4 separate regions of the Homo sapiens genome follow, and all the other regions are linked to region 4. Evidence: promoter capture Hi-C in 16 types of primary human blood cells and fetal thymus (Javierre and others, 2016). All regions are on one chromosome and are shown on one strand. The core of a region is centred on a gene start or on the middle of the fragment in contact, and the rest is flanking DNA. Distances in the headings are between cores, read along the strand shown.

Region 1 (5,671 bases), core at 357-2,856, 550 kb after region 4:
AGACTGTTTAGTTCCATTAGAACAGAGGAACCACACTCTGCTTACCATTTTTATACCCAGTACTGATCATACGTGGGCATTTGTAGGTTCTAAATAATTATTGATTAAATGAATGAATCATTGCTTCTCCGTTGTGGAAATTGCTAATTCTTCTCAATGACTTCTTCTTCTTCTTTTTTTTTTTTTTCTTTTTGAGATGGAGTCTGGCTCTGTCGCCCCGGCTGGGGTGCGGTGGCGCGATCTCAGCTCACTGCAACCTCGGCCTCCCTGGTTCAAGCAATTCTCCTGGCTCAGCCTCCCGAGCAGCCGGGACTACAGGTACACGCCACCACGCCTGGCTAATTTTTGTATTTTTAGTAAAGATGGGGGTTTCACCATGTTGGCCAGGCTGGTCTCGAATTCCTGACCTTAAGTGATTCGCCCATGTCAGCCTCCCAGAGTGCTGGGATTATAGGCGTGAGCTACTGCGCCAGGCCTCAATGACTTGTTTCTTGAAGCTCCATGGAGAATATGAACTGGTAGGCACTTGCCAGACTCACATCCGTGCAGTTTAACCACTTCGTTTTCCAGAAAATCACATTCTGAATTCCGTGAAATCAGGCTTGCAACAAGGGCTGTGTCTGTCTGATAATATGTGTATCTGTGTATCCTATGGAAATGCATTTTTAAACTAAGAAGTTATATAGATATTTTTAAAGATCATTAATCAGGATCATTAACATTTTCCTTTTTTGGATTTCCTTGTCTTCCCATTTGAACCACGTTTTCTGCTTTTCTTTAGTATGTTTGGCAGAGAAAGCGGAAATGGAGGTAGTGGCATGAGTCAGCAGAAAGGTAAATGGAACAACTGGCAGTATTTGTGAACCAATAAAAATCTCCTGCAAGCAGGACTCGACAAGTTTGGCATACAAAATTGATTTGTTTCAAAATAAGCTTTATCAGTTTCATAGTGTTCTTTGACAATTTGTAGGAAAGGTTCAGTAGTATTTCTTTTATATAAACAACCTAGAACTCTGAGTTGCAGATCCTCTGTTTAATTGAGAAAGGATCTTGGGGGTTATGGCCCAAATGTTGCATAGGATTGTTAAAATATGTAGCATTTTTTCTGAAAGTATATAATTTGTATATTTTATGTGATCAGTGACTCTCTTATTTTTTTTCAGTATATTTTTGGAGATTTTAGCCCTGATGAATTCAATCAATTCTTTGTGACTCCTCGATCTTCAGTTGAGGTAAGACAAAACTTTGTTTTAGTGAGTCCGTGGGTAGATACAATTAATAGTTATGTTTCTATTTTAATTTGTTTTTTTAAATAAAGAATTCCAATGTAGAGAAAAGTATGGAGACTAATATGAGAAATGCCTCAACCCACCAACTAGATTTGACTGACATTTGATTTGACATTTTGCTGTATTTACTTTATTAGGCTTTGAAAAGCAAATAAAACATTACAGATGCAACTGAAGCCTCCTTTGGACCTCTCTCCCATCTCTCCCCAGAAGTAACTACTCTGCTGAAATTGGGAAATATTGGTCCTGACTGGTTTTCACCTTTTATCATATACGTGTATATCACCATAGTCAATCGTAGTGTTTTATGTGCTTTAAAGTGTCACGTAAATGGTATACTATATTCAGTTTGTCGTTTATTTTAAGCTAACGTTGTATTCTTTATGCTAAGAAATTTGTCCTTGTTCTTTGATTTCCAGTGCTCAGTACCACTGATTGAACACACTGCAATTTACTTACATATTTTCCTGTCGAGGGCCATTTAGGTCTCTAGTTCAGCCGTTAAAAATATTGCACTCAATGTATTTTATCATGTCTCCTGGTGCCCCTCTGTGGGCTCCTCCGGGACACAGACCTGGGAATGGAATTACTGGGTTCTGTGGACCGAGCCTCTTTAGTTTCACTAGAGACTGCTCGTTTGCTATCTAGGATTTTAACAGTCTTCATTCCCATCAGCAGTGCATGGGAGTTTTCTTGCTCGTATTAAAAAAAAAATCTTGCTAACTCTTGGTGTTGGCATATTTAAAATTTTGTGAATCTGATGTGTGTAGTAAATGGACTCTCATTGTTTTAATTTACATCTCCCAGATTACAAACAGCTGGGTACTATTTCATTCTCTTCACGTCTGCTGGCAATACGGATGTCCTCTGCTGTGAATTACTTGGTTTATATCCCTTGTCCATATTTTTAAATCAAGTAGCTTGTCTTTTTCTTACTGATTTTAGGATTAATCTTTGGTTTTACAGGCATCTGTTCCTAGCATGAGGGCTTTAAGCTTCACATGTTAGGTGAACCCTTTTTGGGGTTGGGTTTTTTTGTTGTTGTTGTTGGATAAGAGGAGTACACTTTCAACTTTAATGTCAACTGAATTGATTTTTTTTTCCTTATAGTTTGTGGATTTTTAGTTTTAAAAATATCTTTAGGAAATTCTTCCCATCCTTTAGATAACGAAGATATTTGTCTGTTTTCTTCTAAAAGTTTTCAGATTTTGTTTTCACGCTTCAGTGTGTAATAAGCTGAAATTGAGGCACTGAATTTTGTATATGTGTGAGGTGGCATCGAACTCCCTGCCCCTGTGGCCCTGGCAGGTGCCTCCTCACCATTCATTGGGAACTCGGCCCTTAGCTGTCCTGTCAGCCCCGTTGGGCAGTGCATCTCCCCTGGTTCCGAGTGTGCTATTCTGTGGGCCTATTGCTTATCTCTGTATAAACACCACACGTTTTATTTTATTTTTTTATTTCTATTTTTTCTTTTCTTTTCTTTTTTTCGAGACAGGGTCTCACTCTGCCCAGGCTGGAGTGCAGAGTGCAATCACAATTCACTGCAACTTTGACCCCCCGCCCCGCCTCAGGGGGGTTCTCATGCTTCAGCCCCTGAATAGCTGGGATTACAGGTGTGTGCTGCCAGGCCCGGGTGGTGTGTGTGTGTGTGTGTGTGTGTGTGTGTGTGTGTGTGTGGTGTGTGTGTTTTTAAGTAAGGGGATTTTGTATTTTTTCCCACATCACACTGATGTAACCATACGTTTTAGTTGCTACAGGTTTTCTCAAGTGTGTACACATGTGGATGGGTGGGTACCTGTTTGCAAGTGAGTAGACAAAAACTTGAGTTTTCATGTGATAGGAAAGTGAAAAGTGCACCGTATTTCAAGTCTGAAGGCCTGGGGTCGCTTCAGTTCTGCCACTTCCACAGGCTCGGAGGGTTTGGGCACGTTCTTTCCTTTTGGGCCTCCCATTTCTTTTCTCTTTCTTTTGTTTTTTAAATTGAAAAAATGCAGAATGCTTATTCACGTCACAGAAATGTTGGGAAATCAGCTAATGTATGGTCCGATAACTAGTGAGTAACAGATGTTAGTAGAAATGGATGAAAAGGGTACAGATGGTAAGTTATGCCAAACCTTTTATTCACAGAAGACGTGACTGTGTCTCATGAAAATGAGCTCAAGCTTCAGAACTCGTAGTGTGTGTGGGCTTATTTGGGCTTTTCTGTTTTTCTTATTTTTTAACATACGGTGAAGTTTGGAGGGGTATAAAAAGAGTTTATCAAAATCACAGTAACCTGCAAAAGGGAAATGCAGGCTAATTAACATAATCGGATGGAGTTGTTTTCCCCAATCTTCAGGAATCTGAATTATAATAGCACATGATTACACAGGAACTCACTTTCATGGGGCGGCATGTGGTTGGGCCTGTGGGTGTGTGAGTGGCGAGGGCGTGTCACTTGGACCTGTGGGTGTGTGAGTGGCGAGGGCGTGTCACTTGGACCTGTGGGTGTGTGAGTGGCGAGGGCGTGTCACTTGGACCTGTGGGTGTGTGAGTGGCGAGGGGAGGGCGTGTCACTTCTACAGCACAGTTTGGCCTTTTATCTCTCAGGTAACATAATTGCCGCTCAAACATGCAGTGTTTCTACCATGTGGCTGTGGCATGAGTTACAATCTAGTCGAATTTTTCATATGCTTTTTCTCCGTTGTTAGGAGCTTGATAAAATATTGTTTTCTCTACTTGGGGCCATGAATTGAAAAACCAAAATTAAGAAATGTGGGATGTTAAGATGAAAGAGCATTCTGCCTTCCTGCAGAAGCGCCTCCTGCCAGCGGAGGGCTGCTTTGTCTTTTAGTTTGCTTGCTTGGCAGCTTGCCACTGGCAAGATAAGGTGGCTAGTAATTTAGTGGCATCAGGAGAAACGAATTCAGGTGAAAGGTAGCTGGCATCTTTTCTAGAGTTGTGCTCCAGTGATTTAAAAATTATTTTCTCCAGTGGAAAAAATGCAGTCACCTTATTTAATAAGCATGTTTAAACCTCAGTCGTAATCCTGTTATTTATGTTCAGAAAGAAAGAGAAAATGCTCACCATTCTTTAGTTTCCAGAATCTCAGCTTTGGAAGTAGCACACATCCCAACCATGACTGAGTCAATAAGCCCCCGATGACATAGTGTTGGCAGTGGGCAGTGTGTGTGGTGTGGGTGTGTGTGGGTACTCATGGAGAGTAGAGAGTAGAGACAGTTCTTAATTTGGTGTGTTTTCTTTTTTGAGAGGGAGTCTCGCTCTCTCGCCCAGGCTGGACTGCAGGGGCGTGATCTCGGCTCACTGCAAGCTCCGCCTCCCGGGTTCACACCATTCTCCTGCCTCAGCCTCCCGAGTAGCTGGGACTACAGGCGTCCGCCACCTCGCCCGGCTAATTTTTTGTGGTTTTAGTAGAGGCGGGGTTTCACCGGGTTAGCCAGGATGGTCTTGATCTCCTGACCTCGTGGTCTGCCCGCCTCGGCTTCCCAAAGTGCTGGGATTACAGGCGTGAGCCACCACGCCCGGCCTAATTTGGTATCTTAATGGGATTTTAAAGGAGGGCTTTGTGGTTCAGGAGAGTCTTTGAGACGGAAAGCAGAACACACAGGTAGCCCAGAGGGAGACTTCAGAACATGACCTTCCTATAGCCACGGGCCCAGGTATCCTTTTCACAAGGCCGCAGCACTGTTTTCACACTGTGCGTTTAGCATAACTATTAATAGATGACAGTTTTTTCCCTTGCTCACTTTGCATTTGTCTAGGGAATTTTATGTCTTTGCTTTGATTTTTGAACTTTGTATTCTTACAAATAGTTATATAGTTAATGAGTGAACTTCGAACCATCCTGGCACTTTTATTCTGTTGTGTATTTAGATACCCAGTTACCACAGACTAAGTGCATCTGATGTGTGAGGGAGGTTTGCTGAATGAAAGGTGCTGTGTGCCTGTGGAATAAAACACACACATTTCCACAGTGCCACAACCCATCTGGCATTCCTGCAGGTGCGCTCTTTTATCAGCTTAGCAAATCAAAGTAAGTGTGTTGAGCATGCTTACTGAAGGTGGCAGTGTCATCTGGGAGTTTGCTGGTGGTCGTCTCACCAGATCCCTGCTGTGCCTCTTACTGGCAGTGTCACCTGCTGGCACTGTCACCTGGCTTCCTCATCTGAAGCTGGCAGTGTCGCCTGGCTTCCTCATCTGTCAGAGGGCCACAGTAACAGGACCTCCTCCCCAGAGTTGTTGAGGAGCAGGATGTGTGCCTGGCACACCCTGAGTGCCCAGTCAGTGCCACCTGGTGTCACTGGTCCAGCCTTTCCAGCCTCTCCACCCTCAGTCAGCGCCACCTGGCATTACCGGCCCCGCCTCTCCACTTGGCTTGTCCT
Region 2 (5,234 bases), core at 1,254-3,753, 560 kb after region 4:
TCAGGAGTCTCGTGAGATAGTAGAGCAATAGAGTCACATTGAATAACCCTTGGGATCATATAGGGCTTAGGGAGAATGGCATTGTTTGAAATTTTTTTTGTTGTTTTATTCTCCTACTTAGGGATTTACTTTATAAAAGTGGTAAAACATACTCAGTTTGTTACAAGTCAGATCCACTACCACAAATTCCCTTTAGTGGGCACACTTTTAAGTGTAGGCCCACTTATTTTAAGCAGCGTTTAACTGAGTGAAAGTCTAGTTTCATTAAAAGATCTGTTGATGTGGGTTATAATAGAGTTTGACTTGCATTAGTATCTAACTGTTTCTACTGAGACAGTGGTATTTGTGTTATTAACTTTTGGGAAAGAGGGAGTAGGGAATGATTTAGACATTAAATGTATTCCTTTCTGCCAGGCATGATAGTGTGGAGATTGAGGCTTGAGGCTCGATAACTTGAGCCCGGGAGTTCGAGGCCAGCCTGGGCAACATACTGAGACCCCATCTTTAAAAAAAAAAAAAATTATACACACACAAAATGCTTGGAATAATTTGTGTATTTTTTATCTCAAGTTTGTTTCAAATACTCACATTTCTGGACTATTTCCCCTATTGTTAAGTCTGCTTAATAAATGCCAGCTAGTTTTTATGCCATCAGAAGTGAAATTAAGAAGGCAGATGGACTAAAAGAATCACGTATAAGGGATTTTGAAGTGAAATACATTAAACTCTTGATTACTCTTAAACTATCCACTTTAACGGGTTCTACTTGGACCTTCTTGGTGGCAAGGCCATCTCCTCGGTGTAGGTTATGTGTCAACATTTTGTTCCATTGGCTGTTTTTCAAGTGTGAACTGTTATTTGAAAGGAGAAGGACACGCCAGGGGAGAGCGTGTGAACTGAATACTCAGTGATTTCCTTTAGCCCCAAGGGAAGGATGTATCTAAACACAAAAGCCCTGTCTTGCCGAGGGTTGGAGAGGGATCTGTGTTTCAGTGACTGGTCTGAGAGGAGATGGTTGCCATTTATCAGTAGGAGTCAACAAAAGGAAACTTAATACAGCCCGGCACAGTGGCTCACGCCTGTAATCCCAGCACTTTCGGAGGTTGAGGTGGGTGGATCCCTTGAGGCCAGGAGTTCAAGACCAGCCTGGCCAACATAGGGAAATCCCATCTTTACTAAAAATAAAAAAATTAGATGGACGTGGTGGCTCATGGCTGTAATCCTAGCTACTGAGGAGGCTGTGTCAGGAGAATAGCTTGAACCGGGGAGGTGGAGGTTCAGTGAGCCCAGATCGTGCCACTGCACTCCAGCCTGGGCCACAGAGTGAGACTGTCTCAAAAAAAAAAAAAAAAACCCAAAACTTAATAGCTTGTGTTTGAAAGTAGTTGCAAAACGCGACACCCTTGTTAAGAGTGAGTATGGCAGACACGTGGGGAGTGCCTTTGCTGCTGCTTCCCTCATTAGCACAGATACTTTGGAGTTGACGAACATGTGACGTTTGAAATTGAACGTATGCTTTCATTGAACATTGTACTTTTCCTGGGTCTTTACTAAGGAACATTCCTCATATACTAGACGAAATTGTATCAGATGCTTTCACATCACAAATAGAGCCATTTTGTATTTGATGTTTTGCTTTCAAAATTATGCAACAGTATATTTTGTTTTAACAGAATATAAATAATGCTGGGTAAGAAGAGTGGCCAACTGCCCGATAAGTTAAAATTCCAGTGAGAGAGAACTAGGAAAACTGAGCTCTTGAACAGCTCTGAAAACATTGCGTTGAGGTATCTAGCAATGTCATTTATTATGAATTGTTAGTCAAAACCTGTTTATATGATTTTTCACAGTGGTTTTATACCTAAAAGGCATTGGATCAAGAAACAAAGTTATTACAATTTGGGTCTTCTCTAATGAATTACCCTGTCCGTGTTTATTTAAGTGTAAATGAACATACAGTTATGTGCTGCTTTAATGATGTTTCAGTCAACAACAGACCGCATGTACGACAGTGGTCCCATAAGATTATAATGGAGCTAAACAATTTCTAGTGACCAGTGAGTTGTGTTACAGTTGCCTACGGTATTCAGTACACAACATGCTGTACGGGTTTGTAGCTTAGGAGCAATAGGCTCTAGCATATGGCCCAGGTGTGTAGTTGGCTATACCATCTAGGCATGTGATCCCACAATGACAAAATTGCCTAATGCCACATTTCTCAGAACATATCCCCATCATTAAGCATGGCTGTGTATCCTAAAACTGATCTTTATTTTGGCAGTTTATAAATCATGCATATATTTCCCCCCGCTCCTTGGGGGAAATGGTTTCTCAGATATTTTGCACTTCCTCTTCAAACTCTGAAGTACACAGGCAGTGGTCATGCGGCGTGATCTAAGTTAAAAAGGCGTGGCACCTGTTTACCGGGATCCACCCTTGTGGACTGAGAGTTTAGTCCACATCTGATTCGATGTTTGTAGCCTCACATTTATTATACATCTTTCCACTTCAGAAACATAAGTTGATCTGTAGTCAATGGGTAGTGGTACATTTTGGTCACTTTGCTGTCCTCCACCTGGTTAGATAACCAAGATAGTGTGTGTTCTTCCAAATTGATGGTAATGAGGAAAAGAAAAGCACTTGGAGAATGTTCTGGACAGTTAGAATGATGACAGAAAAGCAGGTCAACAACACCAGAATGTCGATTACGGGCCAGTTATTGAGCCCTAAGAATCAGAGTTCTGTACCTTGCATTTTCAGGGATTTTCAATGTTAATATGACCCCTAAGTCCTAATTTTAGGAAAACAGAATTTGATGTGTAAAATATGTGTAAGAATAATCATAGCTTATGATGACATAAAAGTTTACGATGCTGGTATTGCCTTTGAGTTGATAAACAATTTCAGTGGGCTGATTTGTGGCAGCCCTTGTGAGCTACCATCTAGCATGTATGTCTTAAAATTTGAAAAAAGGCTATTAAGCAACTCCATTTTTCTGTATGTCAGCAGATTTCATAAGAGTGAAATTTCAGTTCAGCCTTTTCATGTGAGTTATTACAAAAGTGAACTACAGGTTTCAATTTTGTGTCTTTTATGAGTCATTCTGGCATTTTGTGCCTTTTCTCACACATTGTTCTAGGCAGCCCCACCAACTCCTGTGACAAAGATGGACTGGGGGAGGCCATCTTCCTAAAGTTGCTGTCTGAACAGTTAAGTAGTAAATTATACCAACCATGATGAATTGAAAAGAAGGCTTCTGGGGAAAGTTTGTTATTAGAGCCAACTTCTATTATATGCCCTTAAAGAAGGTAAAATAGATACACCAATGGCAATGACTTTGGAATGCAGGTCAAGTTTCAACCTAGAAGTTGCCTGCCCTCTATCCTTGGTGGCCCGCCTTCCTCATTTTTATTCTTTTAGCCTCCATAATTGGAATGCGTATTGGACTTTAGGCTAGGAATAACATTGTAAATGAAAATGTTGATGTTGAAAGAGGAATTTAAATAGAGCGAAGAGTGATATTAGAAATTTGGAAGTGGTATTAGTTCTGGCTTGTCCGTAAGACCTGACTTTTGCATGATAACAATAGGATTCATTCACTTGAACATAATTCGGTCTGGTCTTAGGAGGAATTAGAACTGCTTTTGCACCCCTGTTTTTTTCACTGCGAGGAAGAAGAGGAGCTCACGAACTTCATAAAGCGTTAGTGTCTCCTCCAGTTGATGGTTATCGAAATGAGTCAGGATGGAAGGCTTAGTGTACGTGTGAGATGTTACAAAAGTGGACCTTAAATGTTTCTTGAGTGTTTGGATCTTAAGAGAAAATCTTTGACAATAAGTATTTAATCTTCATTTCTTACAATCATTCCTCTTAAAATGGAGCTTTATTTTTTAAAAACGTATTTTTTTTTTCTTAAGAAACAGGGTCTTGCTCATTCATTCAGGCTGGAGTGCTGTGGCATGATCATAGCTCACTGCAGCCTTGATCTCTCAGGCGCAGGTGGTCTTCCTGCCCCAGCTTCCTGAGTAGTTGGGACTATAGGCAGGCACCACCATGTACAGCTAATTTTTTTATTTTTTATTTTTTATTTTTCATAGCAACAGAGTCTCACTGTGTGGCCCAGGCTGATCTTGGAACTCCTGGACTCAAGTGATCTTCCTGCCATAGCCTCCCAAAGTGTTGCCTGAAATAGAACTTTATTAATATATCTTTAATATGTCAAGATGTTTAAAACTTGTCAAGATTTTAAGGAAGTTGGGCTAACATTTCCTCTTGGGATGCTGAAAGTTGTTGGTTTTCTCAGACTCTCACATAAATTCATTTGCTTTTCCCTTCTCCTTCCACCTCTATTAGCTCTTTATTTTCTAGGGGGGATTCTGATGTCTGTATTGAGCTGGCCGTCATGCCGGGAGTGGTCTGCTTATGTATTTACATGCGTGCTCATCTTTGCTATAGCTGAGCGTGGTGCAGCTCCTTACCTGTTCCAGGTGCGGAGTGATCTGCCGCACAATGAATGAAGTGGCAGAGCCAGGGCGCGAACCCCCGTCTTCCTGGTTTGTGTGCCTGGGCCCTTGCCCTTTACTGTGCGTCTTCTCAGGAGCTGTCATTTAGACTTTCTGGACCAGGAGCTAAATGACCTTTAAAGTCTGTTGAGTCATTTCTAACAAATATGAGTGGAGTCATTTGCCGTAACCAACAACTTTAATCTCCAGATGTTTAATTGATCCTGTATTACTGTCTAATGAGAACTTACTGTATGCCATGCACTGTCTAGTTGGAGTAATGATTGGCCTTGCCTTCAGGGTAGTCTAAGGCATAAGATCAGAAAGGAACAGATGGCAGCTGTTTGTAGGGAGAAGTGATCATTGGCAGAGGGGTGTTGAGGGGAGAAAGCAAGGAGGGGAGGCCTCATGCAGCTAGTAGGGATGGCAGTAACAGGCTGAGGACACAAAAGGCCACCAAGTCCTGTTACCTTAGATGGTGCGGACTTTGTTGAGCAGTTGAAGTGTGAGAGTCTTGTCTTTAAGGAGCCTCCTGTCCAGAGAAGGAGGCACACAGCACTAATATCAGGTAGGCAGTGATGAGGTCAGCTACTGTGGAGACAGTGTGGAGAATCTTGAGTGCCTTCTGTCGGTCTTACTCTGAGATTAGGATTTAGGATCATTATAAGAGATTAATAACAGAATGATACGGTATTTTAGTTTATGAAAGACTTGCCACTAGATAAAATTTTT
Region 3 (5,436 bases), core at 2,653-5,152, 520 kb after region 4:
ACACTACATCCCACCAATTTTTGTATTTTTAGTAGAGTTGGGGTTTCATCATATTAGCCAGGCTGGTCTCCAACTCCTGACTTCAAGTGATCCGCCCGCCTCGGCCTCCCAATGTGTGGGATTCCGGGTGTGAGCCGCTGCGCCTGGCCCACTTATATTTTTCATGGCATCCCATTTATGAAGAGACCAGGCTCCCTATTTTATGTAACGTGGGAATGGATCTTCCTGTTCATCTCCTCTGCTCAGTGTACGGTCTAGCAAGAGCAGACTCTCTGTAGGTGTTTGTTGAATAAATGAAACCAATAGTAATGGTTATTAATAACAATCCCAGTAGCCAATTTTTATTGACTATTCTCTTGGCCAGTGTGCTCACGTTAATCTAATTTGAACCTCACAGAAATCTTACGCGTTATGACATATTTGTCTTATTCACAGGTGAGGAAACCAAGGCTTAGGGAAGGAAAGTCGCTTGTCTGAAATCACAGCTAGAAAAGGGGCCAAAACCCAAGGGTGGACCCACTGGCTGGAAAACAGTGCAGTTAGGCAGGGGCCCCTGTTTCTTAATAATGAATGAACCAACGACCCCCAAGGCTGGTTTGCCCGTGCACACGCACGCACGTGTGCAACACGTAGCACTTGCTGAGTGTTTGCTACTTGCCAGGCCTCATGTCAAGCACTTTACGCGTGCTTTTATGCCCTACGTTTTGTTTTTGTCTGTTTTGCTTTTTTCCCCTAATGCCTAGCCAAAGGCGTGGCCCAGGCGCCCAGGCAGGACTTGGGGAGTGAATGAAGAGTGAACAAATGAATGAATGCGCGGCAACGGGATCTTCATAAACCAGACCCTCCTCGGGGATCTAATGCGAACACTCCCGAGGCCCGGGCCCAGGTACGCTGAGGGCGGCTCGTGGGCCCCAGGCCGACCTCAGCCCGCGACTCCCGGGCTCCGGGGGCCCAGGTGGCCCCCAGTAGGTGAGGAGCCGGGCCCGCCGGCGCCTTGGCGTTGCCACCTCTACCTGCCTGCCCTCTCCCCTTCCGGATCCACAGCCAGGCCTCGGCGGGCTCCTGGTGTGCAGCCGCCCGGCCGCTTCCGCCCGAGGGTCGCGGGGCTCAGAGTCCGGCAGGCTCCAGGCGGGGCAGGGGATGTCCGCGGCCCGGCAGGCGCACGCCCACCTGTCGGCCGCGCAGGCGCAGCAGCGGGCCGGCCTCCCCGCGCCCCGCGGCGCGCGGCCAGTGCGCAGGCGCGGCGGCCGATGCGAGTGTGTATGTGCGGGCGAGAAGATGGCGGCGGCGGGGGAAGCAGCGTGAGCAGCCGGAGGATCGCGGAGTCCCAATGAAACGGGCAGCCATGGCCCTCCACAGCCCGCAGGTAGCCGCCGGTCTGCGCCTTCGGCCGGAAGGGGCCCGAGCCCCGGGCGGGCGGACGCCGCGGCGGGCGGGCGTCCGCGCCCTGCCCGGAGCGAGCGTGTGGGAGTGGGGGAGGGCGCTGGGACACGCTGCCCGGGCCTAGGCCGGAGCCACCCGCCGCCTCCGCGCCCGCCGCGCCTTCGTCCCCTGAGCCACCCGGACCCCCTAGTCCCGGGGAGGTCGAAGGGCGGGGGCTCCGGGCCCCGCTTGGGGAGGGCGTGGAGGGCGCCGAAGGGGTTAACCTCCCTGGGGCTGGACCGCGGGGCGAGCCCGGGGTGTGGAGTGGGGCCCTCCCCGCCGCGCCGGCCGGGGGAGGCGGCCCGGGGGCTCCGGGAGTCCCCTGGAGCGCAGGGGCCCCAGAGCAGCTCAGGTTGCTGCCTCTGCCTGGAGCGAGCCTCAGAGATTTGGGGGTGCCCTGTTGCCCCTTTGCCCCAAGAGCTTCCTTTCTCAGCTTGATTGATGATGCGGGGGTTGCCGATTTTCTGTTTTTTAGATAGAAGTAGCAGAGTAGCGGCCTTGGGCTGCTGTTGCAAAGAAAACTCGAAATAAGTCGCAAGGACCGTACTTTCACTTGCGTTTGAGTGACATCCCTTGCACGAATCCATCCCAGCCAGGCTGACAACTAACGCACCCTGCCTGAACAGTAGCTAAAGCTTGGGGGCCCTTTACAATAATCCCGTGGTGGAAAGAAAGAGCTCTTTTTGGGAGATGTGCGTGTAGAGTTAAGCTCTTATTCCCCTCTCCCACCCCTTCTCTCACATCTTCTCCCCCCTCCGCCATTATAATTATTCTGGACAAAAATCGGCATGATGTATTATTTGTCAGCCTTGCTTTAGACTGCTAATTTGTTGACATCTGGTCCCTATAAATTGTTGCACACTTTTAAACCATCTCATTGTGTATTTGTATTAAATATGGGGAAATGAAACAAAGTAGCCATTCGGGAAACTGATTGCGAGTAAAATCATAACCCTTCATGAGCAATTGGGTTTTGTTGCCCTTCTGCAGATGAAGTCAATCTGACTACACCTCTTTTGAAACATGATTTTCGGAACTATTGTAATGAATGCGTGTTGTGGAATCTAAAATGCGAAAACTTTTTAAAAAATTAGATCTTACGACAAGCTTCAATTTTGTTAAATTAGCTGTAGTTTAGTTTGCATCAGAATTTCCCCCTTTAACGTTTTGTTCCCTTATTCATTTACTTTTGTAAGTAGTGTAGGTCTTTGCGCCAAAAAAGGGATCAGTAGTTGAATAATTTTTACAAATGTATAGCCCAAAGATTTTAAGAGATTTGGTGTATTTAGCTTTGTTTAGACCTTTCTGTTAAAAAAAAAGATTTGATATTTGCTTTTTTCTCAACTTAAATCCTAATTAACTAGCTTATTAGAATTGGTATGAACAAGTAAAAGGCTCATTATGAATTAATGTGTAATATTCCTTGTGATTTTGACATGAAGAAAGCATCTTTAGGCATAGCTCACTTCCTTTATTTAATAAGCATCAATCACAATTCAAGGTTGATTGAAATGTTAATTAATGGGGATGGATAATATGTAAACTTAATTGTAATTTCGTTTGCATTCATTGTCCCAGTATTTACGTTTTATACAACAGTCTAAAGCGTTATACACATCTTTAGAAAATTGGAGTAGCAAAAGTTGGCGGAACGTAAATGTTAGCAACACTTTGGGTTTATTCTTTTAAAGTATGATTTAAATGCTTTTAAGTTTTAGCATGGAGAAAGTAGCAAAGGAAATAGTTTGATTTCTCATAATTTTCTTCTTCTTTTTTTTTTTTTTTTTGAGTTGGAATTTGGCTCTTGTTGCCCAGGCTGGAGTGCTGTGGTTATTAACCTATAAACTTTTTTATTTATTTTGAGATGGAGTTTCGCTCTTTTTTTTTTTTTTTTTTTTTTTTTTTTGAGACGGGAGTCTTGCTCTGTCGCCCAGGCTGGAGTGCAGTGGCATGATCTCGGCCCACTGCAACCTCTGCCTCCCGGGTTCAAGCGATTCTCCTGCCTCAGCCTCCCAAGTAGCTGGGATTACAGGCGCCCACCACCATGCCTGGCTAATTTTTTGTATTTTTATTAAAGACGGGTTTCACCATGTTGATCAGGCTGGTCTCAAACTCCTGAGCTCAGGTGATCCACCCGCCTCGGCCTCTCAAAGTGCTGGGATTATAGGCGTGAGCCACTACTGCGCCTGGCCGATTTCTCATAATTTTCATTTTAAAAGAATAGTAATGCAAACAAGTAATGGAATCATGTATGACAGGATTTAGTTACTGGTTCCTGCTCCAGTCATTCTGAGCGTTTTAATAAATTTGTTTTACTTGGTTGCCTACTGTCCTAAGAGTCTTGCAGCCTTAATGGCCATTCATTCATTCAGCAAATACTGATTGTTTATCAGATATTAAGCGTCATGGTATGTATATTACTTGTTTATGTTGGGAATAACAACTGCAAATTGAAGGTCTTATTTTAAAATTGACTTGTTAAAGTTAAATTTGTCACTGAGAATAATGGGAGGTGGAAAAAGTTACAGTTTAAAAATGTTTACAGGCCAGCGCGGTGGCTCGTGCCTGTAATCCCAGCACTTTGGGAGGCGCAGGTGGGTGGATCACTTGAGGTCAGGGGTTCGAGATCAGCCTGACCAATATAGTGAGACCCTGTCTCTACTAAAAATACAAAAATTAGCCGAGTGTGGTGAAGCTCGCCTGTAGTCCCAGGTACTTGGGAGGCTGAGGCAGGAGAATCGCTTGAACCCGGGAGGCGGAGGTTGCAGTGAGCCGAGATCATGCCACTGCACTCCAGCCTGGGCGACAGAGCAAGACTCCCGTCTCAAAAAAAAAAAAAAAAAAAAGAGCGAAACTCCATCTCAAAATAAATAAAAAAGTTTATAGGTTAATAACCTTATTTCCAAATATTAGAAAGTGTTGGTTGATCCCTGTTACCTGTATTGAAGTGTAATAGTGAAGAATTTGGAAACATTTTGAGACCGGTAACTCAGCATTTTAGCAAAGACAAATAAATGAACTTTAACAGTTGAAGTGTAGGTCCAAGTGAATATCCTTGTCACTGAGGGGACCGGTTAAATTATTTGGGGTAATTAATTTGAAGCTATTAGTTTTGCCTTACACCGAAAAAATATTTGTGATTATTGATGTCATTTATAGTGAAATCTCCACAATAATGCTTCCTACACCCAATTTGAATGTCATGCAGTTGGCTTCTGTCCTTGTCTCTGCATAGACTCACCCCAGTCTCTTTTTTAGCTTGTAATAGCAGATCCTCCACATTTTACATGATGGAAAGTCTTGGATTCCCCCTCTAGCATATGGCTGAATGTTACTGTATTGCTGAATATCTGTTTCTAGCCAACAGCTGGATTAGTGTTAATTCTTAAAAGAGATACATTTTTATTAGAATCTCAAGTAATGAGCAGCTGAAGTAAATACAATTGTTTGAAATGTTGACAGGGCATTTGGAGATAACAGTTTTCCTTTGCATAGTGACAGCAAGCTATTTAAACATGTCCTAAGAGTAGATGTTTTAAGTTTGTGAGCCAGTGGTCACCTTAGTGGTTTGTACAGATGGCCTGAGAAGTTTGTGAGCCAGTGGTCGCCTTAGTGGTTTGTACAGATGGCCTGAGCAGCCGCGCCGTACCAGGACCTCACCATCATGCTCTTGAGCCCATCTCATTGAGAGCACAGCGCACTGAAATTCCAGTGAATACTAAGCGGGCCTACCACATTCTAAATTCCTCACTAAAGCAAAAGTTAGGACATGTATTCCAGTGTTCTGTTACGTGGAACTGATAGGATTTAAGCAGTGATTCACATAGGAAAACTTAAAGGAGAAAAGGATTACGAAGCTTAATGATTGCTGTTTAATGCCAAGCCTAAGCGGCACGTTGCACTGTGCTGTGCTCAGAATATAACATTCAAGTAATTGAGAAAAGTGGTATCATCTCCAATTGAATTAGTTACATCAGGGTTTTTGTTTCGGTTTTTTGTTTGTTTGTTTGTTTT
Region 4 (5,294 bases), core at 1,443-3,942:
CCAGACAGGGTGTTTCCAAGGGGAACTAGGCGGCTGAGGATTCCAAGCAAAGGGCCAGTGTCCCTCCAGAGGCAGCAGAAACCCTGCAGGTCTATCCTCCCCTCTCCCAACCCTACTATGCTGTTTCAGCATCCTTCTGCTTTCATTCCAAGCTCTGATCACATTTTGTAAACACCTTATCCATTGGATAAAGTTCACTTGTTTATTCTCGCTCAACTCAGCTCTCCGTTCCAGGAAGGGAGGGGTCAACCGACTGATTCAGGCAGCATTCTCACGGTCTCATAAGGGACCCGGCATAGTGGGGGCATCCGTCTAGGGATGGCAGGGTAGCCCATGTACCCCAGAGGAGGTGGCAGAGCCTGTGTCTCAGCAGACTCGTGTGAATGCCACCACTCTGTGGCCTTGTCAACTGATGTGAATGTGAGACGGGGGACCCAGGGAAGGGATGTCCCTGGAGCTGCCAGGGCCCCCTGCCTGCATCCTCACCTCTGAGTTCTGGGGCTGGGCCTCTGGCAGAGTCAGTGCGTCTCGCCAGCTGCACATGAAAGAGAGGTCAGGGACGTCGCTCAGACCAAGGGGGCCGGTCAGAAACAATGCAGGGCGGAGGGAGCTGGGGAAGTCCATCCTGGAAACAAGGACCAAGCACCACACTGGCCACCTCGAGAGACTGGAAGCTGGTAAGGGGCGCCAGAGTTCCTGAGGAGTGAAAAGTGCACTACGGGAAGCATATGTTCTTTGAGGAAGCAGATAACAAAAAACAAATATGTAGCCCAAGGCCAAGCAGTAGTGAGAACTGTATTAAAGCCAACCACCCGTCCAGGAGAAGGGGATCTGGTAGTGGGCTGAGGGCGTGGTTTCAGCAAAGCCAGCCAGGAAAAGCCTCGTTGAGAAGGTGGCGTTTGAGCACAGCCTGAACCTAGTGAAGGAGAGAACCATGTACGCAACTGGGAAGAGGGTTCCAGGCCGAACGGTCAACAACTGTGAAAATCCTAGAGCAGTGAAGTGTGTGAGAAAATGAGGCAGCCAGAGTGAGCGAGGTGGAGAGCGGTGGAGATGGAGTCAGAAAGACGGCAAGGGGCAGCCTCTCTCCCGGCTCGTAAGTACCGTCATCATACATTTACAGACTACACCCCCAAGACGCTCAAGTTACTCCACAGCCAGGGACTGCATCTGAGCATCGTCTTCCTACTGTCAAGCACAGTGCCTCCCAGAAAATGCACTAGGGGTTGAAAAAAATAAATTTCTATCACAAGGGGCCGGGCGCGGTGGCTCACGCCGGTAATCCTAGTACTTTGGGAGGCCGAGGCAGGCGGATCACCTGAGGTCGGGAGTTCGAGACTGGCCTGACCAATGTGGAGAAACCCGGTCTCTACTAAAAATACAAAATTAGCCGGGCGTGGTGACGCATGCCTGTAATCCCAGCTACTCGGGAGGCTGAGGCAGGAGAATTCCTTGAAGCCGGGAGGCGGAGGTTGCGGTGAGCTGAGATCGCGCCATTGCACTGTAGCCTGGGCAACAAGAGCGAAACTCCATCTCAAGAAAAAAAAAAATTACATCACAAGGCTTTGGTAAATACAGTCCTCTAGAAGTATGAGCAGCCATAGCATCCCTCCTTTTTAATTAACAAAAATAACAGGGGCAAAAATAACAGCAGCGCTCGCTGACCAAGCGCCAGCATCTATCTGCCAGGCACATGCTAAATGCTGCACTCTTCTATCGCCGTCCCTGTTAACAGAGTTCAGGAAACGAAGGCTCAGCAAGAACTTTAGTCCAACAGCTCTTAGCTGCCACAGCCAAGACTTGATTCCCATCCGATTCAGAGGCAGAGCTCCGAACCAGTGCTCTCGCATGCACCGAAATGCAAACGCTAGCATTAGAGTCTCGCTATACAAAAATCTTTTCCCTTTGGCCGGGTGCGGTGGCTCCCGCCTGCAATCCCAGCACTTTGGGAGGCCAAGGCGGGCGGATCACCTGAGGCCAGAAGTTTGAGACCAGTCCGGCCAATACAGTGAAACCCTGTCAATACTAAAAATACAAAAATTAGCCGGGCGTGGTGGTGTACACCTGTAATCGCAACTACCGAGGAGGCTGGGCACGAAAATCGCTTGAATCTGGGAGGCAGAGGTTGCAGTGAGCCAAGATCATGCCACAGCACTCCAGCCTGGGTGACAGAGCAAGGTTCTATCTCAAAAATAAAATAGAAACAAAAATATTTTCTCTTGGAACCGCATAGCCTGAAACGATCCTAGACAGGCGGAGGGCGCTGGTGGAGAGCACGACCCCACAAAAGCCCTCAGACAAGGCAGCCTCGACTTCCCCGGCCGGCTTCCCGCCCTCGCTGCGGGCTCTCCAGGACCCTTTAGACCTCCAAGGCTACAGAACTCAGTCGGATCCGCAATAACGACAGGCCGGGGACTGCGAAACGTGAGCCTGCCGCGGGGACTGGGGATTGGGGGCGTCCCTCCCCTCCTACATCTGCGGGTCCGCTCCTCGAACACGCGCAGTCCGCGCGGAGGGGGCGCATGCGTGCACTTACGTGACCCCGGCCTCGTCGTGGTCGTCTGGAAAATGGGCCTCGGCGTGATGCTCGCCGGACCCTGGCACCACGAGGGAAATCTCAAGTAGAACCCCAGCTTTGGCACTCGGGACGGGTCAGCCCCGCCGCAGCTACCCACGGTCTTCCGGTTTGGACCGGAAGTGCCTCCTGCGGAGGCAGGAAGTCCCGCCTCCCAGCCAGGCCTCTTAGGGTCCTGGCGCGCCCCCTCCCGGGAGGAGAGGGAACGGGCGTGCAGGCGGCGCGTGGGCAGCGGAAATAAAGCTCCCTTGAGTCCCAATAGTGGAGGCCGGGTGGACTTAGGTTCGAATCCCACATCTACTTCACCAATTTCCTCAGAGTTGTATTAAATTAATCATTTAACGAACTCCCACAGAACACCTACTATAAGCCAGACCTGTATTGGTCAGTAGGTATCCTACTGATTGTCCTTAAATCCCAAGAAGCGGGCTTTACAAATAAGGGTACAAATACCTACTAAGAGTGAAGCTTTTCCAGGGGTGGTCAGGCAGGGAGAGCTTTAGGCAGTGGTCTTCAAACTCTAGCTAGCGTGCGTCAGCAGTAGCACCTGGGGGGCTAGTTAAAACACAGTCTCCAATTCGGTGAGTCTGGGGTGGGACCTGATGATTTGCCTAAGTTCCCAGGTGATGCTGAAACTGCTTATCTGGGGGCCATGCTTTAAGAACCACTGTCCAGTCATGAACCTTACCGTTATCCTAACATAGTACTTCTCAAACTTCAGTGAGCCTTAGAACCACCTGGGGGGCTTGTTACAAGTTTGCTAGGCTCCACCCTACCTCTGCCCCCCGAGTTGCTGATTCAGTAGATCTGGGATGTGGCCCAAGAGTCTGCATTTCTAGCAAGTTCCCAGATGATGCTGGTCCAGGGGCCATACTTTGAGAACCGTTGCTTTAAAGAATCAATTTCCAAATTCTCAGCTGTCATCTATGTCTTTATTTATTTTTTTGAGATGGAGGCTAGAGTGCAGTGGCACGATCTTGGCACACTGCAACCTCCGCCTCTTGGGTTCAAGCAATTCTTCTGCCTCAGCCTCCCGAGTAGCTGGGATTACAGGCCTGCGCCACCATGCCCGGCTAATTTTTGTATTTTTAGTAGAGACGGGGTTTCACCATGTTGGTCAGGCTGAGTCTTGAACTCCTGACCTCAAGTGATCCGCCTGCCTAGGCCTCCCAAATTGCTGGGATTACAGGATGAGCCACCACGCCTGGCCTATATTGTTTTTATCTGGAAGTTTTTACCTGGACTAAAAGTGCCAGCAGGGCTGTGTTCCTTTTGAGAGGCTCTAAGGAAGAGTCCACTATCTTGTCTTTTCTGGCTTCTGGAAGCTGCCTGCATTCCTTGGCTCATGACCCCTTTCCATCTTCAAAGCCAGCAATGCCAGTCGGATTCTTCTCATGAGGCCATCTCTCTGGTTTTTACTCTTCTGTCTCCCTCTTTCCCATGTAAGGACCCATGTGATTATAGTAGGCCCGCCCAGGTAATCCAGGATAATCTCCCTATTTTATTTGTTTTATTTATTTTTTTGAGACAGGGTCTCACTCTGTCGCCCAGGCTAGGGTGCAGTGGTACCATCATGGCTCATTGCAGCCTCAACTTCCCAGGCTGAGATGATTCTCCCACCTCAGTCTCTCGAGTAGCTGGGATTACATGCAAGCACCACCATGCCTGGCTAATTTTCTTTTTTTTTTTTTATTTTGAGACAGAGTTTCACTCTGTCACCCAGGCTGGAGTGCAGTGGCGTGATCTTGGCTCACTACAACCTCCACCTTCCAGGTTCAAACGATTTTCCTGCCTCAGCCTCCCGAGTAGCTGAGACTACAGGTGCCTGCCACCACACCCAGCTAATTTTTGTATTTGTAGTAGGGACGGGGTTTCACCATATTGGCCAGGCTGGTCTTGAACTCCTGACCATGTGATCCACCCGCCTTGGCCTCCCAAAGTGCTGGGATTACAGGCATGAGCCACCACGCCCGGCCTAATTTTTGTAGTTTTTGTAGAGATGGGATTTCATCATGTTGCCCAAGTTGGTCTCTAACTCCTGGGCTCAAGCTACCTTCCCACCTGGGCCTCCCAAAGTGCTGGGGTTACAGGTGAGAGCCCTATTTTAAAGGCAGCTGATTAGCAACCTTACTTCCACCTGCAACCTTAATGCCCCCTTGCCAAATAATATACTCATAGGTTCTGGGGATTAGGCTGTAGACATCTTTGGGGGAACCATTATTTTGCCTACCACACTAATATTCTACATTACCCTTGTAAAACGCCTATCCAGCTTTGGCACTGCGAGGCCAGTTCCATTTCTTCCTTTCCTCCTTTCTCTGAATAAGCCATTATCAATTTGCTTTTGTAACTGACATATACTCAACATGCAGTAAAGCACACGAGTCTTAAATGTACAGCTCATTGAATTTTTATTCATACATAGAAACCCACATGAACACCACCCAGATCAAGACAGAGAACATTTCTATCACTCAAGAAAGTTCCAGCCAGGCACAGTGGCTCATGCCTATAATTCCAGCACTTTGGGAGGCCGAGGTGGGAGGGTTGCTTGAGTCCAGGAGTTCAAGACCAGACTGGTCAACAGAGCAAAACCCCCATCTCTACAAAATTTTTTTCTAAAAAGAAAATTCCCTGGTGCCACTTCCCAGTCAATACTTCCTTCAAGAAGGAACCACTATTTGGACTCTTATCACCACAGATTAGTTTTGCCAGTTCA

The links. The method cuts DNA at HindIII sites, captures the fragments that hold promoters and counts their contacts. A CHiCAGO score of 5 or more calls a contact.
Region 1: a fragment that was not itself captured here is called in contact with the fragment with the promoter of TAF1C in region 4 in 2 of 17 cell types (total CD8 T cells and naive CD8 T cells); the score reaches 5.6 in total CD8 T cells.
Region 2: a fragment that was not itself captured here is called in contact with the fragment with the promoter of TAF1C in region 4 in 3 of 17 cell types (naive CD8 T cells, total CD4 T cells and total B cells); the score reaches 5.9 in naive CD8 T cells.
Region 3: a contact is called between a fragment that was not itself captured here and the fragment with the promoter of TAF1C in region 4, in 2 of 17 cell types (fetal thymus and total CD8 T cells). The highest score is 6.5, in fetal thymus.

What each region holds. Positions count from the first base shown.
Region 1 is chr16:84,732,272-84,737,942 of GRCh38, forward strand. USP10 (ubiquitin specific peptidase 10) reads left to right here. Exons shown (of 14, transcript NM_005153.3): 2 at 1,164-1,232. Among named protein-coding and RNA genes, the nearest start is that of USP10, 35 kb to the left of the region's middle. RefSeq lists enhancers at 3,160-4,125, 4,126-5,091. The HindIII fragment of the contact is 1,351 bases long and covers 932-2,282 here.
Region 2 is chr16:84,749,069-84,754,302 of GRCh38, forward strand. The region is part of intron 4 of USP10 (ubiquitin specific peptidase 10); the gene reads left to right. Among named protein-coding and RNA genes, the nearest start is that of USP10, 52 kb to the left of the region's middle. RefSeq lists an enhancer at 3,144-3,223. The HindIII fragment of the contact is 5,744 bases long and covers 1-5,234 here.
Region 3 is chr16:84,698,746-84,704,181 of GRCh38, forward strand. USP10 (ubiquitin specific peptidase 10) reads left to right here and starts at 1,255. Exons shown (of 14, transcript NM_005153.3): 1 at 1,255-1,366. The coding sequence starts at 1,346. RefSeq lists silencers at 727-1,246, 1,337-1,556, 1,567-1,676, 1,717-1,826. The HindIII fragment of the contact is 2,750 bases long and covers 2,528-5,277 here.
Region 4 is chr16:84,184,365-84,189,658 of GRCh38, forward strand. It overlaps TAF1C (TATA-box binding protein associated factor, RNA polymerase I subunit C), which reads right to left and starts at 2,693. Exons shown (of 15, transcript NM_001243156.2): 1 at 2,537-2,693; 2 at 487-696. The coding sequence starts at 624. RefSeq lists an enhancer at 2,533-3,033 and a silencer at 2,679-2,888. The HindIII fragment of the contact is 17,434 bases long and covers 1-3,041 here.